Linked DNA regions of Homo sapiens: regions 2, 3, 4, 5, 6 and 7 are each linked to region 1. The links are contacts of gene promoters, found by promoter capture Hi-C in blood cells and fetal thymus (Javierre and others, 2016). All regions are on one chromosome and are shown on one strand. Each heading gives the region's core, a stretch centred on a gene start or on the middle of the fragment in contact. The rest is flanking DNA. Distances are from core to core; before and after follow the strand shown. Region 1 holds the start of GLCCI1 (glucocorticoid induced 1). Region 2 has its middle 24 kb from the start of UMAD1. Region 3 overlaps ICA1-AS1 (ICA1 antisense RNA 1). Region 4 overlaps RPA3 (replication protein A3). Region 5 overlaps MIOS (meiosis regulator for oocyte development). Region 6 overlaps ICA1-AS1 (ICA1 antisense RNA 1). Region 7 overlaps ICA1 (islet cell autoantigen 1).

Region 1 (3,595 bases), core at 538-3,037:
AACTGAACTGTTAAGTGTACTTAAAAATGGAAGGAAAAAAACGAACACGTTCCACAAATAAGTTTTCAGAAATTTACCATGAAAATCTCCGGTAGAGCACAAACTGTTTCCAGTGCAGGAGTGCTCTGATGCATGAATATATAAAGGGGAGGGGGAGAAAGAGAGGGAGAGAGAGAGGCGGGGTGGCGGGGGGCTGGGGGAGAGGGAGAGAGGGAGGACTGAGGGAAAAAACCGTATACACTTCAATTGTACATTCAAAACTGTCCCCTCTAGCAGATATCATTACATCCAGCCGATATCCTTACATCGAAACTAATGCCACCAACCCTCTAAAAAATAAAATACTATCCCGGTAGTTACAGGCACGTTAGGAACTTTGCAGAAAAGCACAAAGAGACGGTAGAGATTACAACCGCCACCTTATCCGCTGCTGAAGAGTTTGTGTGCGTGTTAAGTGTTTCGCCCAGCTTCTCCTTCCCCGGCTACAAACGGCAAACACACGAATGAGCTAGCCAGCTCTTAAACTGAAAAACCTCTCGAAGCAGGCGAGTGATGGAAGAGAGACTCTGAGGGGCGGCATGAGGGTCAAATAAAAGTCGCTTTTCAGTTCGCTCCTCCAAGCCCCACAGCGACCGCAGGGGGGTGAGATTCCCAAAGCCACTTTCACACCTTCGATAATGCACTAGCAAAGAGAAGCCCGAAGAGGCTGAAGTTTCCACGGAGGGCACCGTCGGGGAGACGCAGCCCGGGAGGACGGGAGGGTTGGGCTCGCTACCTCTGCACACGGGCGAGCCGGGGCTCCGTCTCTCAGGTGAGCTGCTCCTCCGGTGGCTCTCTGGGGACCGTCTCGGGCGGCCCTTGGCCCGCGGCGCCTGCTCGGCCGGGGCTGCGGCCGCCGGCGGCGTCGGGCTGGACGGGCTGGGGCCGCGGGCCGCGCCGGGCCCCGGGAGGCTGCCCAGCGAGGCGGCGGCAGCGGCGACGGGCGGACGCGTGGGACTGTGCTGGCTGCCCCGCAAGAGCTGGTAGGGCACCGTGGCGCGGATGGGCTGCAGCAGCCGGCCGGCTCCCGCAGCCGGGGCGCAGCCCACGCCGCCGCCGCCGCCCGCACCGTTCCCGCTCCCGGCGGCGGCGACGGCGGGCGGGGACCCCGCGGCGCTGCGCCTCATCCTCTGCGACGGGGGATGAGGGGTCTGAGAGGAACTGGAGGAGGAGGAGGAGGAGGCAGTGGACATGGTGGCTCTGCGGGCCCTGGACGCCGCCGGCCGACACGGAGGCGCGGGGCGGGAGGCGCGCGAGCGTGTGGGAGCCGGCGCGATAGTGCGTGCGAGTGTGTAAGGGGGAGGGGCGGGGGTATCGCTGTGGGGGAGGAGTCTCGGGGCTCCCCCTCCCCAACGCACACCCCCGCCGCCTCGGCGAGGGGGGAGGGGAAGGCTGCGAAAACAAACGTCCAACGGCCGCAACCGCCCGGCTGGGCTCGGTGTGGCGGTCACGGCCGGGGCCGCAAGGAGCCCGGAGCCGCCGCCGCCACCGCTCCAGGCATCGTGCTGACAGGGCAACGGCCCGGATCACGCAGCCCCGAGGGCCGCTCGCAGCCTTCTCCTCAGCCCTCGCAGGGCTGCACGCACGGGAGAACCCGGCAGCTGCAAGGAGGGCCGGGACCCCTGCTTCTGGGGACCAGGGTAGAGAGAAAGGGCCTCGAGGTGCTGGCGCTCCTCGGAGTCCGCGCCACCGCAAACGCCGCCGCCGCCGCCGCCGCTTCTACCCACTCCTCACTCCGAATGGCAACTAATTCGCCCCAGCCGCACCCCGCCCCCGGCACCGCCTCCCAGCGCCCAGGACCCGGCAGCTGCCGCAGCGAGCATTTCCATTGGCTTAGGCGCTCCCCACTAGAACTCGAGTGATTGGTTCTGGAATAGGAGTGAGAGAAGCAGTGTCCAATGACAATGGTGCCTCCTACTTTGAAGGCGGGGCGTGAGGGGTGGCAGCGTGAGGTGGGGGCTGTGCGCGCAGGGAGGAGCGTAAAAGTTGACAGCCTTGAGGTAAGTGCGAGACTAGGAAAGTGGGACTGTGTGTGTCCTGCGCGTGTCCCGACACCCCCAGACACGCAAACGCCCCGCTAGGCAGGTTGCAGGGGCTCCACCCTCCTGGGCCGTCTGTATGACTTGAGACACAGGACACATGAGGCAAACTTTAATTTGCAAGTACACCTGCATCCGGTGGGATGTTTTAGTTAGAACCAGAAGACTGGATCTCTTTTAGTAAGCTGAGTTTTCGTGACCAGTAGCCTTATTAATCAAAAGAACTTCTGGTGATCAGGAGAAATGTCTGGAACCTGCACTGAACAAAGTAAAATACTCTTACAGCCTAACATTTGTAGTTATGCAGTGAAAAGAGATTATCAAGTTCTATGTTCCAAGACAATAACACTGAATAGCAGGGGTCAACAAGGAATTTTATGTCATTACACCATCAGTTAGATATATTAATGAAGGGCGCCCCTGGCTTTTCCGAAGCAGATAGCTTCTTGGGAGGAATAAATACCAGATGTAATGTAATAATCCATTGTGGTAAATTTGTTTTTTATTCTGTAATGAAACTGAAAGCGTACAAAGATTTTGGATGACTATCAAAAACATAAATTTACCCCACAGTAAACCAAGGTTTTAAACCTTAATCGGGAGCAATTAATGTAAGGATCTTCATCAGATAACTTTCATTAATTTTCAAGAGGTTAAAAGAGAAGCACAATGTCAAATTGGTCTGCTCGTGGTGTCTGCCCACACTGACAAGCTTCCTCTGATTTCAGGCACTATATGCAGGGGTCACTTTCACGTACAGGAGCCATCCTTCTTTTCTTCCTTGTGTGTTCAGACGAGAAAGCATACTAGGTTCAGTAAAAAAATTGATGAAACTCAATAAAAATACAAAAATTTCATGCAGTACTTCATCCAAGTAAAACTAGTGATAGTTCCTCAGTTTACCACATATTATAATAAGAGCTAACATTTATTCACCATGTGCCAGCCGCTATTCTAAGAACATTATGTGTGTTAATTCATTCAGTCCTCATATAATCCACAAGGTAGATACTATTATTATCCTTACTGTGGTCTCAGTTGTGGCATAAATAAGCTGTCTTGCCTGAGATCACATAGTTAGTATATGGGGAGCTAAAAATTTCACCCAGACAGACTGGCTCAAGAGTCTGAGGAAGCACTCTGCTATAGTACCTGGCAGCTCAAAGCTGTGGGGTACATAATCTGTAGAGTATTCACAATGGCCCACAAATCTCATCTGTGAGATAAGTTCCCATCAGTTCAAAGGAAATTTTACAAATGAAGACAGACCACTACTTTTTTTTTGTTTTCCAGAATAACATATATTTTAATTATGAATAAAAACTTTACTCTTTCAAATTTTATATAAATGGCCTATCTCATTAATTTAAAAACTGCATTATTTTGTGTGTAAAAAGAATGATAAATGATTTCTTTTCAGTGACTTTTCTCAGAATAGCAAGAACAAAAAATCTGACAGATTAAAAATATGTAAAGCTGGCTAGGTGCGGTGGCTCACGCCTGTAATCCCAGCTCCT
Region 2 (3,797 bases), core at 513-3,012, 350 kb after region 1:
GGTATCAGACATTTTGTTATTCTCGAAAATATGATTCTTTCTATAGTAGAAATGACTGAGAAACAAGATGAATACCAAGGACACACAGTTACTGACAAGAAGATTATAAAGCATAATGGGCTAAGCAATGTTGTAACAAAAATTATCTCTGAAACAAGACCATCAGGGGCCTTTGGCAGTACTATTAGTCCTCCTCACCCTAATTGCTGTCAAGGTGTGGAGAATCTGGTTAAACATTGAAAGAGAAATGATTATCATAAAAGAAACAAGGCACTGGGTGCAGTGGCATGCACCTGTACTCCCAGCGGCTAAGGAGGCTGAGACAGGAGTTCAAAGCTGTAGTGCACTAGGATCACACCTGTGAATAGCCACTGCACTCCAGCCTGGGCAATATAGCAAGACCCTGTCAAGGAAGGAAGGAAGAAAGGAAAGGAGGAAGGGAGGAAGGGAGGAGAGGGAGGAGAGGGAGGAAAGAAACAGTGACAGTGAAAAAACTGACCAAAGCTAACTTTCAAATTATAGCAGAAAAGGTGTAGAAAGAGGGAATTACATATAATTCAGGGCTTTTCCATATAGGTGTTTTTTTTTCCTCAAAGTAAACACCATTAAAATTGAGCATGGAAATGAACAAGCAGTGCATTGTAAATAAATACAAACAGTGAATAGTCATATAAAATCTATGTTTAACCTCATTCAGAATTGAATATATGTAAATTAAAATATTTTCAATATTTTCATCTACTACATGGCTATAAGTAGAAATTTTATAATGCTTAGCGTTGAAGGTGTTGGGAAAACAGGCACTTTCCTATGCTGTTTAGTTTATAGGGAGATAATTAGTTCAACTTTTGGAGGGCTATTTGTCAATATCTATCAAAATGTAAAATACACATAACTTTTGGCTCATAATTCCACCTAATTTATCTGAGAAATTAACTCACTCACAAGTACCCAAAGATTTATACTCAAAGATGCTCACTGCAGTATCATTTGTAAAAACGAATGGAAATACCCTACATTTCTATCAATGGGAGATATAGACATCTAATCACACACCATTCAGTCAGTTTTTAAAAATTAGATATATATAGGCTAATAAGGGAAACTCTTCAAAATACATATTTTAGATAGGAAAAAACCATTAGAGGAGAGTTTATGCAGTATGATCTTATCCAGGCAAAGAGAGAGAGGCAAAGATGAACGCAGACAAACACAGCCAGATGTGGTTTATGTAAAGAACATTTCCTTACATGTGTACAGACTTTAAAGCAGCTTTTCCTAGAAAGTGAGAGTTGGCGTTTAGGGAGGTGACACATAGAGCAGGAAGATAATGGGGCAAACTGCTAAGAAGATATTTACTTCCACTTTATACTTTATGTAATTTTTTTTTCTTGTGATAAGCCTGCATTTTTTCCCAATTTTTTATTGTGGCAAAATACGTATAATATAAAATTTACCAACTTAACCTTTTTTAAGCATACAATTCAATGATATTAAATACATTCATAATTATGTGCAACTATCACCACCATCCATCTCCAAAACTCATTTCATTGTGTAAAACTGAAACTCAGTATCCATTAAACAGTAACTCCCCATTCCCTCCCCTCTAGTCTCTGGCTACCACCTTTCTATTTTCTCTTTCTATGATTTTGACCAATCTAAGTACCTTATACAGGTGGAATCATAAAGTATTTGTCTTTTTGGTTAGATTATTTTGCTTAGCATAATATCCTCAAAATTTATTCATGTTTCAGCATATCAGAATTTCCTTTTTTTTTTTTGTCAGGGTCTTAATCTGTCACTCAGGCTGTATTGCAGTGGTGTGATCATAGCTCACTGCAGCTTTCACCTCTCAGGTTCAAGCAATCCTTCCACCTCAGCCTCCCGAGTAGCTAAGACTACAGGCATGTGCCACCATGTCTGGCCCAGTTTTGTATTTTGTGTAGACATGGGATCTCACCATGTTGCCCAGGCTCTTCTTGAACTCCCAGCCTCAAGCAATCCTCCTACCTCAGCCACCCAAAGTGTCGGGATTTCAGGCGTGAGCCACCATATCCAGCTCCTTTCTTTATAAGGCTGAATAATATTGCTTTGAATATGTATACCACATTTTCCTTATTCATCTGTCCAGGACACTTGAGTTGCTTTCACATTTTAACTATCGTGAATAATGCTGCTATAAATATTGGTACACAAATAACTCTTTGAGACCATTTCAAAAGATTGCTTTCAATTATTTTAAGTATATACCCAGAAGTGCAATTGCTGGATCATATGGTAATTCCTTTTTCTTTCTTTTTTTTTCTTTTTTTTTGAGACAGGGTCTCACTCTATCACGCAGGCTGGAGTGCATTGGCACAAGCATGGCTTGTTGAAGCCTTGAACTCCTGGGCTCAAGTGATCCTTCTGCTTCAGCCGAGACTACAGGTATGCTCCACCATGCCCAACTAATTTTTGGAATTTGTTTTTGTAGAGTTGGGACCTCGCTGTGTTGCCCAGGCTGGTCTTGAACTCCTAGGCTCAAGCAATCCTCCCACCATGGCCTCTCCAAGTGCTGGGATTACAGGTGTGAGCCACCACATCTGCCTGGTAATTTTATTTTTAATTTTTTGAAGAAACACCATACTGTTTCCCACAGTGACTTTACCATGAGCCTGTATCATTTTTATAATAAAAAGTTAGCTTTAAAATTATTGGAAGTTCATATGATATACATCATACTAACAGAAGAATTCATCTGGTCCAGTTCATTGTCTATGAAATATAAGAGTACTAGACTTCAGTGAAGAGACTTGAGATCTAATTTCAGCTTTACCATCCGGTTCGAATACCTCTCCAATTGTCCAAATTGGTAGTTAAGCTGAAAATGACAAACAGGTGAACACTGGCCAGTTGGCAGTTGGTGCCTAGAATACTACGCTGAAAAAGGATCTGAGGGAAAGTGGGAGATTGATGAACCACTTGTGCCAAAGGTAAAGAAGTGTGTGGTCATTCACCACTAGGTCAAGCACAACTTGGCCTAACCTGTCCATCTCATGGTGTCTGAAACGAGTTGCTGTATTTCTCATTGGAGAATTTTAACACATAGAGGAAGTTTGCTATTGGCTCACATGTAGAAATCTTGTTACTATGTGTTTTTCTTATCACCCAGTGCTTCTTACCATGACCATTTTCTTCCCATTTTTCAAAATACAAGTAAGTCTCAGCTATCTACATTAATCAATGTTAGGTAAAAATGTCCTCTACTTAGCAGTCCTCAAAGCAGCCTTTGTTAGCTTCTTCTTAAAATTTCACAAAGACAGAAATGAAAAGTCACAATACCACTACCAACAGATTGTGGAAAGAATATTAATCAAGTATAGGACAGAGCAGCTGGATTGAGGACCTATGATAGCTCCATTTTGTTGTATAATCAATGCGTCTCAGCTCTGAAGAAAATGCACATGCACTTCAATTGGGTGACCAATACAATGTAGTAAAGGTAGTGTCTTAATTCAGAGGCAGATAAAACCAAAACCAACTGTTTATATTTGAATTTGAAATTCAACAGGGGAAGAGAGAGGAAACAATGAGGAAATAGGAGAAAGCCATGCTGGAAGATGAACATAGATGAGGAAGGAGTTTAAGCTCAGTAATATTGAGAACTTGAGGAACTTGGTCCCAGGAGCAGAAAGAGATGCTAAAATACCTATTCCAAGTACCATTCATTTTCCTTGATGTATCATTTTACCAAAACTACAATCTGTCACTTTTTTGTAGGACTATGGAGACCCACATTATCTGCCATCTGTTTT
Region 3 (3,434 bases), core at 588-3,087, 310 kb before region 1:
TGAGTGTGGCAGACACAGTTCCTTGCCTACACTACAGCCTTTCTTTCCTTTTACTGCAGACGGAACCTCAGAAAACTGGCAGGGATCCCTTGATTTAGGGACAGCTAGGAAATTAATCAAGGTAATTTTCACTTCACAGTCATGAGTCTAGAGTTGGACATGTGAGCCATTTCTGGCCAATGAGATCTAAGGATAAGTCCACCAGGGCTTCCTTCGAGGCTAAAACCAGACCCTTGATAGGAGAAAGCTTTTGCCCTCTTCTTCCCTGTCTGCAATGCTCACCTAGGTCTTAAAGACAATTTGGAGCTCCTACAACCATCTTGTGATCAAGGAAAAGATCCAAAGAATTGCAAAGAGCTGACTAAGTCACTGTCATTTAGTTGAGCTGATAAACCAACCCTGGAACTGTCTTTGTCAACACTTCTTGATATGTCAGAAAACAGGATGCTTTTATTATTTAAGTCTACTTGTCATGTGTTCTATTACTTTCAGCTAAGCACATTCCTGAGGGTTTTATAAAGACTCAATTGATAAGGCAGTTCCATCTCATGAAGGCCCTTACAAGCTATATTCTAAGGAACACCTTTTTATTTGCAGTGGCAGAAATCTATTTCTATCTGGCTTAGATAAAAGGGGTTCTTCATAAGACTGTATTGGGGTATCTCACGTGATCCGAGGAAGGGTTGGAAAACCAACTTCTGGAAGGACAGAACCACATGAATGAGAGCTTCTAATACCACCTGCAGAATATTCCCTATCTCTGGGCCTGGTGCAGTGGCTCATGCCTGTAATCCCAGAACTTAGGGAGGCCAAGGTGGATGGATCCCTGAGGTCAGGGGTTCAAGACCAGCCTGGCCAACATGGCGAAACCGCATCTCTACTAAAAATACAAAAAATTAGCCAGGCATGGTGACAGAGGCCTGTAATCCCAGCTATTCGGGAGGCTGAGGCAGGAGAATTGCTTGAACCTGGGAGGCAGTGGTTGCAGTGAGCCAAGATTGCACCACTGCACTCCAGCCTGGGCAACAAGAGAGAAATTCCATCATATATATATATGTGTGTGTGTATATATATACACACACACACATATATATACACACATATATATGATGTATATATATCATATATGTATATATGATACATATATATGATGTGTATATATATATACATATATGTATATAGATGTGTATATATATACATATATGCATATAGATGTGTATATATACATATATGTATATAGATGTGTATATATGTGTGTGTGCATATATACATATATATGTGTGTATATATACATATACGTGTGCATATATATACATATATATGTGTGTGTATATTTATACACATATATATACATATATATGTGTGTGTGTGTATATATATATATATGTATTCCCTACCTCTAATCTCTGATCTTCCCCATGGGTTGGTTTAATCCTTTCTCACTACTGACCAGGTTCCTGCACATGGTGAAAAACATGGCCACTGACAGCTCCCAAGCTTCTCCTTTTATAGCTTCTCCTCCCCAGGAAGGACCGGCACATGTGTCCTCTAATATTAAATTTTAAACTCTCATTTTATTTCCATCAGTAAAGAAAGAAGATCCAGGTGGCCAGAGCAATAGATAACCACCTCATAGGGAACCACCAGAAGGTTTGAAGCCAAAGAAAGTCTTTATTCAGTACAATTAAGTTTGTACGTTAGAAAGATGTACCCTTGGTTTAGGTTAGATAATAGATTAGGAGGGTCCTTCCAGGAGGAAGGACAATTGCCATAACTTAAGTGAGAAGTCATAGTGCCTACAAAAAGGTGGCGATGGCTCAGACAAGATTAAAGCTCTTATATAAATAGTGTTAATCTAGCCATTTGTAGTTAGTCCTCCTTTCAAAATCACAATAAGGAATATAACTTGTTTATGGTGGGGTGCAGGGGAGTGGACAGAGAACTGCATATATAATTATAGTTTTAAGTAAAGGCTTTAGAAAGAGATTAATCAAGTTGCCAGCTTCTATCATGATCTACATTTTTGTTTTAAAGTCTACTGTTAAGATTTTGTAGGTTTCAAGTAATGCTGAGGCAATACTTATTAGATGTTGATTTAACATAAACATTGATAAATAACTTGCAAGTGTGTTTAGGACATAAAATATCAAAAATGAAAATCCAGTGATCCAAGCTTATCATGTGTTCCTACCAACCTAACAAATTTTAGTAGAAAATCATTTGCTGCATATTTTGCAGAAGGAACACAGTTTATCTGAAATCAAAGGCAGATGACAACTCAGGCTGTATATATTAAGATGCTAGTAAATGAAAGTAAACTGCTCAAAATAAAAGCATAGTCATGAAACTAAAGAAGACCAAATACAATTGTACATAATAGTAAAAAACTTAACCCAAGATAATTAACAAACATGCTATTCTTGCAACTTAAATATGAATGGGTGATTTCACTGTTATTGATAGGATTTCAGAAAAATATTTTCTTCTTTTTAGTGTCTAAATCTGATCTACATGGGTGTTTCTTCAAGAGTGGATCACAAACCAACACAACAGGGAGAAAAGACAATAGATGGAAGAGGTTACGTTGAGGAAAGAAAAGGTAACAGAGGAGGAAGAGGAGGATAGCCTCAGTGTAAACCAATAAATAGTTACTGCGTGTCCCAGGTTCCATGCTAAGATTGGCAACATAAGTTGGCAGGTTTCTGCTGCAAACTTACCAACCAATACTTGGTAACTCCTCAGGGTTACTGAGCCAGATATGGCCTGAATAAGAGCACACTTATCACCATTTACACAAAGATGAAGCACAGGAAGAAGGGAACACAGTTTCTTACAGATCTGCACCTGGACTCTGTGAGCCCTCTCTCTGTATTCTCTACCTTACCCAGGCTGCTCCAGCCTCTCAGTGCCAGAGTTAGTGGTTCTCAAAATATGGTGTGTATCAGAATAACCTGGGGAGATGGCTTACAATGTGCAATTATTGGCCTCACTCCAAGAATTGATCCATTAGTTCAAGATAGAATGCACATTGTTAATGAACCTCTCAGGTCTACTTGCCCACACTGAAGTTTAAGAACCTCTGCCCTAAGGAGAGAGCTTCACGCCCATGAGGGAATCATATATTCTCTGACTTTTTAAAAAGGCAAGTCGTGGTCATAGTCATTGGGGAGGTTTGAGTATATATTAAGATACATTTTAAATAAAAATTGTAGGATTAAATATTAAACAGTAGTAGAAATAAGAAATGGGACCTATGTGAATTTAAAGACTTTTAAAAACTATTCTAAAATTGTTTCTGCTTTACATGATGAAGAGATTATTTTTGACATTAAAAAGTAGAACGTCTATGACTAAATCTGGTAGATATAGCAGAAGGCCTAACCAGAAATATCAAACTCACCGTGGTTAACAACAGGGCATCAGAATCACATGCT
Region 4 (3,308 bases), core at 466-2,965, 310 kb after region 1:
TTGTGTTACAGGGACAGTCTTTATATAAAAAGCAAAATGTTTCTTTTCTGCATGCATCACACAAAACTAGAAAATAAAAGGACACTGTATTGACTTTTAATGGTATACACAGACTGCGTATAAAAGGGCCTGCCTAATTGCTTAGCAGGGCAGATCCTATTGTTCAGAATAGAGGTAGGAGAGCACTAGAATATATTTCTTTTTTCCTATTACTCCAAGGCTTCCCTTTTAAGTAATATTATCCATGACAAAAGGATTAGGCAACATGGTTTTCTCAATTTGATTATCTCCTTTGAATTTCAACAGACTACTAGTTAATGTAAATATATCAAATAGACTAAAATTCCTGTGTGATTGATGCAGCTACTGTCTATAGACAGAATAATGTAAATACATGTGTATGAATGTGTGTGTGTGTGTATATATATATATCTATATATCACCCACACACATTTTATTCCAAATACAATAAATATGTAAATTTCACAGTGCTGAAAAATTAAAATCCTGAACGATGTTTAACCTTCCTCCTTTTGTACAGTGAAATGCATGATTATGCAAATATAAAAATTTAGACAACAAGTTTACTAATTTCTCCTCAGAGATACCAATACAGTACAGAGGAAGGTAGGCCATGCTTTTGGTAGCTTTAATCTTGAGTGATAAGAATACACAACCTAAAACAACGCTAGAAAGCATAAAACATTCCAGAAAGATCAATGTGAATTAGAACTCTGGTAGGCTGCGCAGACTAGGTAGCCTTGAGTTTAACTTCATCTGATGTGTATAAACAAAGAAGAGAAGGAAGGCCTTTCCTGTAGGAAGGATCAACATGAACAAAAAGCATAGTGGGTATAGAGGAAAGCAAAGAGATTAACCTCACTAGAGGAAGGAACCATGTAGATAAGCAACAGAAATCAAGACTGCAAAAGAAGGGAAGAAATAAATTACTGAAGAGTTGTAAGCGTCAGGAAAGTGTCAGCATATTCAGAGTGGCAAAACAGGATTTGTTGGACATTACTGGGCAGTCTGGAGTCTTGAGCAAAGTATTTAAGAGAGATTAAATGTAAAATAGCATGCTAGAGAGACTGAGAAGAGCCTGGAGCCAAGAAGTTAAGACAGTTGTACTGAAACGGGACTGGATTAAGATGGGTGAAGTTTGAATGAGAAAAGAAGGGATGTACAGAAATGATATGGAAAAGTGGTATTATGAATAAGAAAAGGAAAAGTAGGGGACTTTATCTTAAGAGAAGAAAATAATAGTAAATTCCATTTCAATCTGATTTTCCAAGACAAACTGGAAATCCAGCTATTATGTAAAAATCTAGGTTTTAAATAATAGCAAGAAATTCACGATGTTTACAAATACTGTGCAGATGGTAGAAATCCTCTAAAACTGGACTTGGCCTTCAGGTGGCAAAGTGTTTTAGACCTAGGTTAGGAATTAATAGCCTAAATCTAATCAGTAGAAGGAAAAATTGTTTAATACTTTAGAATTCAGTAGATTTCCTGGCTAGCTCACCCATTCAGGTTATTCCCACCTTTGCTTGTTTTGACTAGGCTATTTTATAAATCTGTAGGAATAGGAGATCAGTTGTATAAAACTGATAGTCATGCATGTAATTCCTATCCATAAAAATGCTTCTGGTAAAATGCATTCGTTATTGCCCCGGGGATACTAACCAATTTTGCATCCATTTATAAATTTTACATTCCTTATTTGCCTATCAGTGTGTGATGAGGCTTTGAGTTCTCTTTTGAACCAGTTGCAGTATCTCACTAGTTCTCTCCTTAATTAACAAGTTCAGTATTTAACAGATTTTAGATTCATAGTAGAGACCTGATTTAATCCTCTTTTAAAATTTATCCTTTAGTATCAGTTAGACTACTAATTAGTATTACATAAAGACTCTCCCCCTGTTTTTCCGTCCCACCTAGGTTTTTTATTTTGTAGTTTTTGATATTGGTGTAATGGGGAAGAGGTACAGATGCCTGAGAGGATAAGCAAGAGAAGACATTTAAACTGATGTCACTTTTCAGCTCCACAGAACAGCTTGGAAACTAATTAATTAAATTGATTAACATAAATTTTACTTCCACCTCTCTTATTTATGCTCAGACTTTTAAAAAATGAAAGAAAAACAAAGAAAGAAAAAACTATCTTAGATTTAGGTGTTTGCTTCAAACTGCAAGTTCCAACCCTTGAGTGGAAGTAAACAATTTAGCAGGTCAAGACCAGACTTTTTTTTTTTAATGGAATGAAATAGGAAGAAAAAAAAAGTAGGGGAAGAGGGAAAGAAGGCAAAAAGATTGAGAGCATTATACATGGTAACTAATGCTTTATAAACTTTCGCATTTGGGTGCCTGTGCTGGGTTATAATAAGAAATCTATTTTCTAGTTTGGGCTACAGGCAAAAAAGGCTTTTTCAAAGCACTCACACACTTCTTTAAATTTTTTTGAGAAAATTATGTACTTTTTAATTTCACATCTAAAACTTTCCATTGAAAATTATAAAGGACATAGTTTCTAGCATACTATAAATATTTACATGTTGAAACAAAATCATTATATCTTTCTTTTAAATTTATTCAACAAAATCTAAACACCACAACATTTTAACACTCACCATTAACCATTTTAAAAATACATGAAGAGGGGTTGCTGGCAAGATGGCCGAATAGCAACAGCTCCATCTGCAGTTCCCAGTGAGATCAACACAGAAGGCGGGAGATTTCTGAATTTCCAACTGAGGTACCCGGCTCATCTCATTGGGACTGGTTAGACAGTGGGTGCAGCCCAAGGAGGGCGAACAGAAACAGGGTGGGGTGTCGCCTCACCCAGGAGGCATAAGGGGTTGGGAAACTCCCTCCCCTAGCCAAGGGAAGCCTTGAGGGACTGTGCGGTGAGGAACAGTGCACTCCGGTCCGGATACTACGCTTTTCCCACGGTCTTCGCAACCCACAGACCAGGAGATTCCCGCCGGTGCCTATGCCACCACGGACCTGGGTTTTAAGCACAAAACTGGGCGGCCATTTAGGCAGACATCGAGCTAGCTGCAGGAGTGTTTTCTTTTTTCATACCCCACTGGCCCCTAGAACGCCAGCAAAACAGAACCATTCACTGCCCTGGAAAGGGGGCTGAAGCCAGGGAGCCAAGTGGTCTAGCTCAGTGGATCCCAACCCCATGGAGCTCAGCAAGCTAAGATCCACTGGCTTGAAATTATCGCTGCCAGCACAGCAACCTGAAGCTGACCTGGGACACTCGAGCTTGGTGGGGGGAAGGGCATCTGCCATTACTGAGGCTTGAG
Region 5 (3,367 bases), core at 1-2,500, 370 kb after region 1:
ATGTTGAACCAGCCTTGCATCCCAGGGATGAAGCCCACTTGATCATGGTGGATAAGCTTTTTGATGTGTTGCTGGATTTGGTTTGCCAGTATTTTATTGAGGATTTTTGCATCAATGTTCATCAAGGATATTGGCCTAAAATTCTCTTTTTTTGTTGTGTCTCTGCCAGTCTTTGGTATCAGGATGATGCTGGCCTCATAAAATGAGTTGGGGAGGATTCCCTCTTTTTCTATTGATTGGAATAGTTTCAGAAGGAATGGTACCAGCTCCTCCTTGTACCTCTGGTAGAGTTCGGCTGTGAATCCATCTGGTCCTGGACTTTTTTTGGTTGGTAAGCTATTAAGGATTGCCTCAATTTCAGATCCTGTTATTGGTCTATTCAGAGATTCAACTTCTTCCTGGTTTAGTCTTGGGAGGGTGTATGTGTCCAGGAATTTATCCATTTCTTCTAGATTTTCTAGTTTATTTGCATAGAGGTGTTTATGGTATTCTCTGATGGTAGTTTGTATTTCTGTGGGATCGGTGGTGATATCCCCTTTGTCATTTTTTATTGCGTCTATTTGATTTTTCTCTCTTTTCTTCTTTATTAGTCTTGCTAGCAGTCTATCAATTTTGTTGATCTTTTCAAAAAAAAAACCAGCTCCTGGATTCATTGATTTTTTGAAGGGTCTTTTGTGTCTCTATTTCCTTCAGTTCTGCTCTGATCTTAGTTATTTCTTGCCTTTTGCTAGCTTTTCAATGTGTTTGCTCTTGCTTCTCTAGTTCTTTCAATTGTGATGTTAGGGTGTCAATTTTAGATCTTTCCTGCTTACTCTCGTGGGCATTTAGTGCTATAAATTTCCCTCTAAACACTGCTTTGAATGTGTCCCAGAGATTCTGGTATGTTGTGTCTTTGTTCTCGTTGGTTTCAAAGAACATCTTTATTTCTGCCTTCATTTCGTTATGTACCCAGTAGTCATTCAGGAGCACGTTGTTCAGTTTCCATGTAGTTGAGCGGTTTGGAGTGAATGTCTTAATCCTGAGTTCTAGTTTGATTGCACTGTGGTCTGAGAGACAGTTTGTTATAATTTCTGTTCTTTTACATTTGCTGAGGAGTGCTTTACTTCCAACTATGTGGTCAATTTTGGAAAAGGTGTGGTGTGGTGCTGAAAAGAATGTATATGCTGTTGATTTGGGGTGGAGAGTTCTGTAGATGTCTATTAGGTCCGCTTGGTGCAGAGCGGAGTTCAATTCCTGGATATCCTTGTTCACTTTCTGCCTCGTTGATCTGTCTAATGTTGACAGTGGGGTGTTAAAGTCTCCCATTATTATTGTGTGGGAGTCTAAGTCTCTTTGTAGGTCACTAAGGACTTGCTTTATGAATCTGGGTGCTCCTGTATTGGGTGCATATATATTTAGGATAGTTAGTTCTTCGTGTTGAACTGATCCCTTTACCATTATGTAATGGCCTTGTCTCTTTTGATCTTTGTTGGTTTAAACTCTGTTTTATCTGAGATCAGGATTGCAACGCCTGCCTTTTTTTGTTTTCCATTTGCTTGGTAGATCTTCCTCCATCCCTTTATTTTGAGCCTATGTGTGTCTCTGCACGTGAGACGGGTTTCCTGAATACAGCACACTGATGGGTCTTGACTCTTTATCCAATTATCCAGCACTTGATTTCTATTAGATCCTGTTTTACTTTGGAAATGGACTTTTCTGATTTCACATGCCAAAAAAAAATAATTTGCTTCTTTTTCTTTTTTTTAAACTTTTACTTTAGTTTCAGGGGTACATGTGCAGGTTTGTTATACAGGTAAATTGCGTGTCATGGGGGTTTTGGTGTACGGATTATTTCATCATCCAGGTAATAAACATAGTACCCGACAGGTAGTTTTTCGATCCTCCTCCCACCTAGCACCCTCCAGTAAGCCCTGGTGTCTGTTATTCCTTCTTTATGACCATATGTTCTCAATGTTTAGCTCCTACTTATAACATGTGGTATTTGGTTTTCTGTTCCTGTGTTAGTTTGCTTAGGATAATGGCCTCCAGCTCTATCCATGCTGCTGCAAAAGACATGGCTGCATAGTATTCTATGCTGTGTATGTACCACATTTCTTTATCCAGTCCACCACTGATGGGCATTGAAGTTGATTTTATGTCTTTGCTATTATAAAGAGTGATTATTCTCTAACTTAGCTCAGCAATGCCTTTAAAGATCATATTCAGGCTCTCCCTAATTTTCCTACTGTTTCTTATCAGTTCACTTCCTAGGTCCTTTCACAACAATACACTTGCTCTTCCCAAACACCCCCTGTACTTATCATAATACTTACCAATCTCTTCACCCTAGTTCATGTTTTTTACACTTGGTCTGCAACCTGGACGGCTTCCCTGCAATCTTCATATATTAAATCTACCAAACTTTAAAGGACTGGCTTAAATGGTAACTTCCTCCTAAAGCTTTCCAGATATCCTTCAGATAGAAGTAATATTTCCCACTTTCAAAATTCCTAATTCTTTCCTTATATAATAGTCCTAATTCATGTTGGGGGTTTAGATGTGTTTCAGAATCCAGGATGTTTGGGATTTTAGAAAAAAGTAGCAAATATGTACACCTTGAGGGAAGTCTAAAGCACCCTGTAATCAAACTCGTTAGTATTTCTGTAGTGAAAGATGAATATTCACTAATAAATAAGAGAAATAAATATCTTAATAGCCTCACATCAATTCTGAACAGGTTTTGTGGTCAAATGAGATTACCGTAATTTTATTTTTAAAAGGCATTGGATTTTCAGATCTTTTTAGAGACTTTGAAATGACAGATAAGGCATTGTAGACCAGTATTTATTTTCTAGAAAATATCACTTATTTTATATTCGTTAACTATGCTTATTGCACACCAAGAGCTCCAAGAGGTTCTTTGATTTATTCATCTCAGCACATCAGCATTATATTAATGTATCAAGTAAAATCAGTGTTCAAATATGTATTATATATATAAAGAAATTATTTCTGTAGCAAATATGGAAAAAAATTCTATAACAAATATGGAAAAATGTTAATATTTGATAAACCTGAGTGCTATTCGTTATATTAGTCATCATAACAAAGAATTTCAAATGTTTTAAGATTTTTCTTCAAATTCTAGAAAATTATTTTCTTTTCTTACCTATTTCAAAAATAGAAAAGATTGAAAAACTGGTATTCAGCAAAAAGGAAGAGTGCCCAGGTGTAAGAATGCAAATAATCCTTATAGCTTCCTGAGGCTTATGGTCCAAAAGATGTGTTACATTTAATTATTTCTATATATCTCAGTTCATACACATATATGTCTTATTTATGCTATATTTTACCTCGAGCTCTCATTGTTGTAGATATTCCAAATTGT
Region 6 (3,741 bases), core at 581-3,080, 330 kb before region 1:
CAAAAACTGGAAGCATTCCCTTTGAAAACTGGCACAAGACAGGGATGCCCTCTCGCACCACTCCTATTCAACATAGTGTTGGAAGTTCTGGCCAGGGCAATTAGGCAGGAGAAGGAAATAAAGGGTATTCAATTAGGAAAAGAGGAAGTCAAATTGTCCCTGTTTGCAGATGACATGATTGTATATCTAGAAAACCCCACTGTCTCAGCCCAAAATCTCCTTAAGCTGATAAGCAACTTCAGCAAAGTCTCAGGATACAAAATCAATGTGCAAAAATCACAAGCATTCCTACACACCAACAACAGACAAACAGAGAGCCAAATCATGAGTGAACTCCCATTCACAATTGCTTCAAAGAGAAAAAAATACCTACGAATCCAACTTACAAGGGATGTGAAGGACCTCTTCAAGGAGAACTACAAACCGCTGCTCAAGGAAATAAAAGAGGATACAAACAAATGGAAGAACATTCCATGCTCATGGGTAGGAAGAATCAATATCGTGAAAATGGCCATACTGCCCAAGGTAATTTACAGATTCAATGCCATCCCCATCAAGCTACCTATGCCTTTCTTCACAGAATTGGAAAAAACTACTTTAAAGTTTATATGGAACCAAAAAAGAGCCCGCATCACCAAGTCAATCCTAAGCCAAAAGAACAAAGCTGGAGGCATCACACTACCCGACTTCAAACTATACTACAAGGCTACAGTAACCAAAACAGCATGGTACTGGTACCAAAACAGAGATATAGATCAATGGAACAGAACAGAGCCCTCAGAAGTAACGCCGCATATCTACAACTATCTGATCTTTGACAAACCTGAGAAAAACAAGCAATGGGGAAAGGATTCCCTATTTAATAAATGGTGCTGGGAAAACTGGCTAGCCATATGTAGAAAGCTGAAACTGGATCCCTTCCTTACACCTTATACAAAAATCAATTCAAGATGGATTAAAGACTTAAATGTTAGACCTAAAACCATAAAAACCCTAGAAGAAAACCTAGGCATTACCATTCAGGACATAGGCATGGGCAAGGACTTCATGTCTAAAACACCAAAAGCAATGGCAACCAAAGCCAAAATTGACAAATGGGATCTAATTAAACTAAAGAGCTTCTGCACAGCAAAAGAAACTACCATCAGAGTGAACAGGCAACCTACAAAATGGGAGAAAATTTTCGCAACCTACTCATCTGACAAAGGGCTAATATCCAGAATCTACAGTGAACCCAAATTTACAAGAAAAAAACAAACAACCCCATCAAAAAGTGGGCAAAGGACATGAACAGACACTTCTCAAAAGAAGACATTTATGCAGCCAAAAAACACATGAAAAAATGCTCACCATCACTGGCCATCAGAAAAATGCAAATCAAAACCACAATGAGATACCATCTCATACCAGTTAGAATGGCAATCATTAAAAAGTCAGGAAACAACAGGTGCTGGAGAGGATGTGGAGAAATATGAACAACTTTTACACTGTTGGTGGGACTGTAAACTAGTTCAACCATTGTGGAAGTCAGTGTGGCGATTCCTCATGGATCTAGAACTAGAAATACCTTTTGACCCAGCCATCCCATTACTGGGTATATACCCAAAGGACTATAAATCATGCTGCTATAAAGACACATGCACATGTATGTTTACTGCGGCATTATTCACAATAGCAAAGACTTGGAACCAACCCAAATGTCCAACAATGATAGACTGGATTAAGAAAATGTGGCACATATATACCATGGAATACTATGCAGCCATAAAAAATGATGAGTTCATGTCCTTTGTAGGGACATGGATGAAATTGGAAACCATCATTCTCAGTAAACTATCGCAAGAACAAAAAACCAAACACCGCATATTCTCACTCATAGGTGGGAATTGAACAATGAGATCACATGGACACAGGAAGGGGAACATCACACTCTGGGGACTGTTGTGGGGTTGGGGGAGGGGGGAGGGATAGCATTGGGAGATATACCTAATGCTAGATGACGAGTTAGTGGGTGCAGCGCACCAGCATGGCACATGTATACATATGTAACTAACCTGCACAATGTGCACATGTACCCTAAAACTTAAAGTATAATAATAAAAATAAATAAATAAATAAAATAAAAAAAAAGGAAAAAAAAATTAAGAAAATTTATCTTCACTGACTCAATGTACAAATAAATAAATGATAGCAAGGCCAACTGCAGCTCTAAATAGTAGAGAATATAAATGATTCAAGCATAAAATGGTCAGAGTTCCCTGAATAAATATTTTCCTACAGTCATGTATAAATAATTCTGATTTCTGTCTGAACCACCTGTCTGCGTTCCTAGGGAAACTAAAGTGAATACATGCCTGTCTGTGACTCTACTCCCTGTATCAAAAGCCAAAGTGGACACAGCTACAGAGGGGAGAGAGGTTGTCTCCACATTCTGTTGTTGGATCACTCTCTTATTCACAATCGTCCCAGAAGCCATAGACAATAAAGGAAGGAGGAGCTGATGCAAAGGAATTGGATAGGGAGGTTCTCACCCTTCCATGTGTGCGGATAGTTTGGGTGTGTTGTAAAGACTCCAGACCACGCTCCAGACCATCTAAAGTTCCGGCTTCCATTTCTAACTGCCCTTACTAGAGCCTTAGGAAAAGCATTTAAATGCACTGCGACTTGGGTTGCTTCTCTTACATAGTAAGGAAAGAACCAGGAACAGACAAGATAATAATGATGATAATTTTTTTTTTTTTTTGAGACGGAGTCTCACTCTTTCGCCCAGTCTGGAGTGAGTGGCACAATCTCTACTCATTGCAACCTCTGCCTCCCAGGTTCAAGCAATTCTCTTGGCTCAGCCTGCTAAGTAGCTGAGATTACAGGTGTGTGCCACCACGCCCGGCTAATTTTTGTATTTTTATTTATTTATTTATTTACTTTTAACAGAGATGGGGTTTCACCATGTTGGCCAGGCTGGTCTCAAACTCCTGACCTCAGGTGGCTGCCTGCCTCGGCCTCCCAAAGTGCTGGGATTGCAGGCGTGAGCCACCACACCCGGCCAATGATGATACTTTTAAATAGTATTGAAAAAAAGAGAATTAAAGCACCATGGTGGAGACCGAGACTGGGAATGGTGAGAATTCTGAGTTAACCATTTTGGAGAAGGATTAAACTGGAGGTGCCGGTCACTCTGCACTAAAGGAAATATTAAGATTCTACACATCACAAATTGAGAATTTAAATGTGAGAGGGAAATAGTATGCATTTCATAAAAGTACACTTGCTTATGTATTCATTTATGTATAAAAAATTAGAGTTGTGGGAGACAAGAGAACTAGGATTCAGAAAGCAGGGGTAAGGACCTCACCACCATCAAAGGGAAACCAAGAAATTATGACAAACAAAATGAAGATTGAGATTTACCCTGCCTCTGTCTATATTTACAAAAAGGGAGCTCAAATCCCAGCTGATGTGTTGTCAGTTCCCTGGGTTCGAAGCCAGAGAACTCAGTAGTTCAGGGGTGTGCTTTTATTTCTGGATCTGTCCTGTCTAGCACAGAGGTTGACGCAAGAGTAGGAGTTAAATGAGAGGATAAACAAATTAATTTATTTATTTTTAAATTTACACCTCCACTAATCCAATCAATTGCATGGAAGTACATCTGCTTCAGAGAAGTAGCGACAGAGCCAAAGGAATTTGGAGCTCTGTTTATAATACTGCATTTACAAGAAAAGAGTTATCAAAGTGTCATTCTCT
Region 7 (3,651 bases), core at 282-2,781, 290 kb before region 1:
ATATTTCCTGAAAAGTAGAGGAAGAGGAGCATTTCAAGAAAGGAAGAGAACGTGGTCAAAAGTCATGAGAAATGAGGACTTGAGTGGGGCCCATAGTGAAAGATGTTCTCTGGGCTGGTGGAGAAAGGAACCAGAGAGCATGGGCTTAGAACTCTTGACTGTGAAGAGAAGGAAGAGGATGGGAACTGAGAAAGAGTTTGAAGAATGAGGCCTGATGGTAGAAGCCAAGGGAGGTTGATTAACATGAAAGAGAAGAGACAGAAAGATGGACTAAGGTGGGCAGGGGTAAGAGTGTAGGAGCTGTCCTTCCTAGGGAGAAGGAAGCGAACAGCAGGTTGTGGTCATGATTCTGGATAGCTCCAAAGAAGTGAGCAGGGGTGCACAGAGAGTGGAAACTGTGACAGAAGGTGCCCAGCGCAGTGCCAAGGCCATGGTTCCCCAGAGTGCGTGAAGAGGGAGACTGCCTGTCACCACCCTGCAGGGTTTTCTTCCCACTGCTCCCTGAAGGCCAGGAGCTAAGTGTCCTGGTGCCTAATGCTGTTGACTCAGTGTTGCCATTTGCAGCATTGGCATCATTGTGAAGTATGTAAACATTGTGTTGTGTTTGTGCTAAGCCACTCCCCACTTTCTGCTTCCTGTTTCTCTCTTCTCTGCACTCCTAACCTGGAACTCAGTACCTTCAAGCAACTTTCTGGGTTTTCTACCTGGTCTGCCCTAGAGGGTACATGCCCAATATCCCTGTCTTTCCTGACCCCCATCAAAATAACCAGTCTTGTGCTTTATAAGCTCTGGGCTTTGCTGCTGTTTATTTCCTGAGAAAGTAGAGAGAACCTGAAAAAGGGATCTTTATTAGTTCTCAAATAACGCCAACTAGATGACCCAGCAGACGCAAGTGTGGTGCTGTTAGCTGAGCATACATGATCATATAGTGCTTTCTTCTGCTGCCTGCTTCCCTTTGCTGCTGACCTCTGAGATCCTTTCTTGCTCCTCCCTTCCCCTGCCTGGACTGCCTGCATTCCCTGCTCCTAAGCCAGCCCAAACTCAAACATGATTTACCTGCCACAGCTTAACCAAGGAAAGTTCTGGAATATGTGCCATTTCCAGATAAAGGAGCTGTGGTGGTTTGTTTACAGGACCCGTGCACAGCATACACATTTTATAAACCACATATTGGTGTCTGCATAGTTCAGTAATTTAAGACTAATGAGACAAATTTTACTCTGTGACTTGGGAAATTTCCCCAAATTTCCCTCAGTTCCTTCAGTGAAAAGAGGAGGTTGGACTAAATGATGTGTAAATTCTCTCCTCACTCTCAGCCAGGAGGTTCTGTGGAGTCATAACAAATTGCTTGATCACATCTTTTGGAGGCTTCAAATTATGAATTTAATCTTAAAGGAAGAGAACCTTATAAACATTAGCATCTCCCTGATTATTCTGATGGCTGATATTATGCTTACGTGCAATTTCATATAATTATAGTCCCCACATTCATACTCTTGGTTCTTCCTTCACACTGTTATTATTAACCATTCATACGTTTCTATGTACATATGAATTAAAGTCATCCCTCTGTATACACAGGGGATTGGTTCTAGGACCACCCTCAGCTATGAAAATCCACACATGCTCAAGTCCTGCAGAGCCCTGCAGAACCCATGTATGTATATGAAAAGTTGACTTTCCATATACACAGGTTTCTCATGCCAGGTTTCTCTCTTTATATTTAATTATAAGCAAAAAATGTACTTAAATATAAAAATATGATTATAAAAAAATAGAAGATATATTTTCTATTTGCCTTTGGTTGAAAAAAACTGGTGTATAGGTGGACCTATGCAGTCCAAACCCATTTTCTTTAAGGGTCAGCTATATATATTTGTGATTTCTAAATATATGTATACATTTTACATTTGTGGATACATATTGTATATATTACATCACATTGTCCTTACATTTTTACTTCTGATGGTCTTATAGTAGCCCACCACTTCACTTACTATTCACATAAATCTAATTTGACACAAATAGTACATTGTGCACACAGATTTGGACCTTTTTAAACTTGTAAAAATATGGAGTACAATCATTTTGTAGGTTATTTCAAAAGAAGATACATATGATTTTATTTTTGTAATGACATCTCTGACAGAATGTCAGAGATTCTGAGCAGAAATAACTGTTTAAGGGTATTTGTAACTAGTACAGAATATTGGTGACCGAAGTTATAGAATTAATTTCTAGCTCTTTTTTGATTTGTTTGATGCCTTAGACTGAGGCTCTCCAACAAAAATATAACAGCAGCCACATATATAATTTAAAACATTCTAGTAGTAAAATATTTTTGGCTTAAAAACTAAAAAGAAATAAGGTGGGGGCTGTGGCGTGTGCCATGCTTATAATTCCAGCTACTCAGGAGGCTGAGGTGGGAGGATTGTTTGAGCCTAGGAGTTCAAGACCAGCCTGGGCAACACAGTAAGACCCTGTCTCAAAACAAACAAAAACTAAAAAGAAACAGCTTAAATTAAATTGATAATTTATTTGATCTAACCCAAAATATTCAAAATATTGTTTCAACGTAAAATATAAAAAAGTAATAAATAAGCAAAAAATATAATTAAATATAAAGCAGAATATATAATATACATATGTAAATATGTAATATATAAATGTAGTTATATAAAATTTAGATATATACAATATATCAACATGAAATAATTTTTATAACTATAAATACATGGATTTATTAATGAGACATTTTAATTTTTTGTTACTAAGTCTTCAAAATCCAGTGTGAATTTTACATTTAGAGCTCATCTGAATTCATACCAGCCGTATCTCAAGTGCTCATATTACATGTGGCTAGTGTCTGCTATATTGGACTGCATAGTCTTAGATGATAAAGTCAATTTATCTGAGGTTATTCTTCCATAAAAAGAAAATTTAAGTTGGTGCAATTCTTTAAAGTAAGATTTGTAAGAGCCTTCCAAGTTTTATAATTTGATCCCAATAAAATATAAGGATAACATTTAGACCTATGATTTAATAATGTTCTGTGCTGACATCGAAGGGCGTAGTATTCCTTCACAGAACTTGATCGAGACTTTTATCTGATTAGGGTGTTCCTTCATTCTTCAGCTTTTGAAATTAAGCTTTTAGAGAAAACACCACCATAAATACAGAGTAAAATCTGTATGTGAAATTTGATTTGATATTTGAAATTTATGTAAACCAAACTAAATAAAATCAAAGGTGAATATAATTTATACTGCAAACTTTTAAAATTACTTTTTTCTTTAGCAGAGGTAACCCATTTGTTCTGTTTCTAGTGTTGTTTTACACTTTATATTTTTATCTTTCTAGATTTCTTTTAGGTTTGTGGTTTGCAAATACCTACCTCTTTGTTATTACTGCCATGATTTTTGGTGTAGCACAAAATTCACCATCGATCATCCTTTGAAAGGAGGGCTTTAAGCAAAAGAAAGAGGAGCAAGACCTAGACCACACTTTTTGTGAGCAGTTTGAGTTTTCTGGTTTGTTTTTAATTTGTTTTACATGGATATAATATTTAAAAATTTTACAATAATATTAATGCTGAAGATGACATTTTAGAAAGTAGCTTGGCAATTTTATTTTGGTTTCTGTTATATTTGA

Evidence for each region. Contacts are between HindIII fragments. The CHiCAGO score rates a contact against its expected background, and 5 or more counts as called.
Region 2: a contact is called between a fragment that was not itself captured here and the fragment with the promoter of GLCCI1 in region 1, in 9 of 17 cell types (activated CD4 T cells, naive B cells, total B cells and 6 more). The highest score is 10.6, in activated CD4 T cells.
Region 3: a contact is called between a fragment that was not itself captured here and the fragment with the promoter of GLCCI1 in region 1, in 3 of 17 cell types (erythroblasts, megakaryocytes and M0 macrophages). The highest score is 6.9, in erythroblasts.
Region 4: a contact is called between a fragment that was not itself captured here and the fragment with the promoter of GLCCI1 in region 1, in 12 of 17 cell types (naive B cells, fetal thymus, megakaryocytes and 9 more). The highest score is 13.2, in naive B cells.
Region 5: a contact is called between a fragment that was not itself captured here and the fragment with the promoter of GLCCI1 in region 1, in 4 of 17 cell types (erythroblasts, naive B cells, total B cells and 1 more). The highest score is 7.6, in erythroblasts.
Region 6: a fragment that was not itself captured here is called in contact with the fragment with the promoter of GLCCI1 in region 1 in 4 of 17 cell types (megakaryocytes, erythroblasts, fetal thymus and 1 more); the score reaches 12.9 in megakaryocytes.
Region 7: a fragment that was not itself captured here is called in contact with the fragment with the promoter of GLCCI1 in region 1 in 3 of 17 cell types (megakaryocytes, M1 macrophages and erythroblasts); the score reaches 7.3 in megakaryocytes.

What each region holds. Positions count from the first base shown.
Region 1 is chr7:7,966,988-7,970,582 of GRCh38, reverse strand. It overlaps GLCCI1 (glucocorticoid induced 1), which reads right to left and starts at 1,787. Exons shown (of 8, transcript NM_138426.4): 1 at 776-1,787. The coding sequence starts at 1,232. GLCCI1-DT (GLCCI1 divergent transcript) reads left to right here and starts at 1,831. Exons shown (of 5, transcript NR_110018.1): 1 at 1,831-2,039. RefSeq lists an enhancer at 325-414 and silencers at 895-974, 1,065-1,124, 1,205-1,604, 1,815-1,964. The HindIII fragment of the contact is 4,760 bases long and covers 1-2,792 here.
Region 2 is chr7:7,615,196-7,618,992 of GRCh38, reverse strand. No RefSeq gene overlaps it. Among named protein-coding and RNA genes, the nearest start is that of UMAD1, 24 kb to the left of the region's middle. The HindIII fragment of the contact is 5,558 bases long and covers 1-3,797 here.
Region 3 is chr7:8,277,731-8,281,164 of GRCh38, reverse strand. The region is part of intron 3 of ICA1-AS1 (ICA1 antisense RNA 1); the gene reads right to left. Among named protein-coding and RNA genes, the nearest start is that of ICA1-AS1, 17 kb to the right of the region's middle. The HindIII fragment of the contact is 676 bases long and covers 1,500-2,175 here.
Region 4 is chr7:7,662,127-7,665,434 of GRCh38, reverse strand. All of the region lies in intron 4 of RPA3 (replication protein A3), which reads left to right. All of the region lies in intron 1 of UMAD1 (UBAP1-MVB12-associated (UMA) domain containing 1), which reads right to left. Among named protein-coding and RNA genes, the nearest start is that of UMAD1, 23 kb to the right of the region's middle. The HindIII fragment of the contact is 4,085 bases long and covers 1-3,308 here.
Region 5 is chr7:7,598,553-7,601,919 of GRCh38, reverse strand. All of the region lies in intron 11 of MIOS (meiosis regulator for oocyte development), which reads right to left. Among named protein-coding and RNA genes, the nearest start is that of MIOS, 33 kb to the right of the region's middle. The HindIII fragment of the contact is 2,383 bases long and covers 59-2,441 here.
Region 6 is chr7:8,296,480-8,300,220 of GRCh38, reverse strand. All of the region lies in intron 3 of ICA1-AS1 (ICA1 antisense RNA 1), which reads right to left. Among named protein-coding and RNA genes, the nearest start is that of ICA1-AS1, 36 kb to the right of the region's middle. The HindIII fragment of the contact is 4,184 bases long and covers 1-3,741 here.
Region 7 is chr7:8,251,731-8,255,381 of GRCh38, reverse strand. The region is part of intron 1 of ICA1 (islet cell autoantigen 1); the gene reads left to right. Among named protein-coding and RNA genes, the nearest start is that of ICA1, 8.6 kb to the left of the region's middle. The HindIII fragment of the contact is 3,240 bases long and covers 1-3,151 here.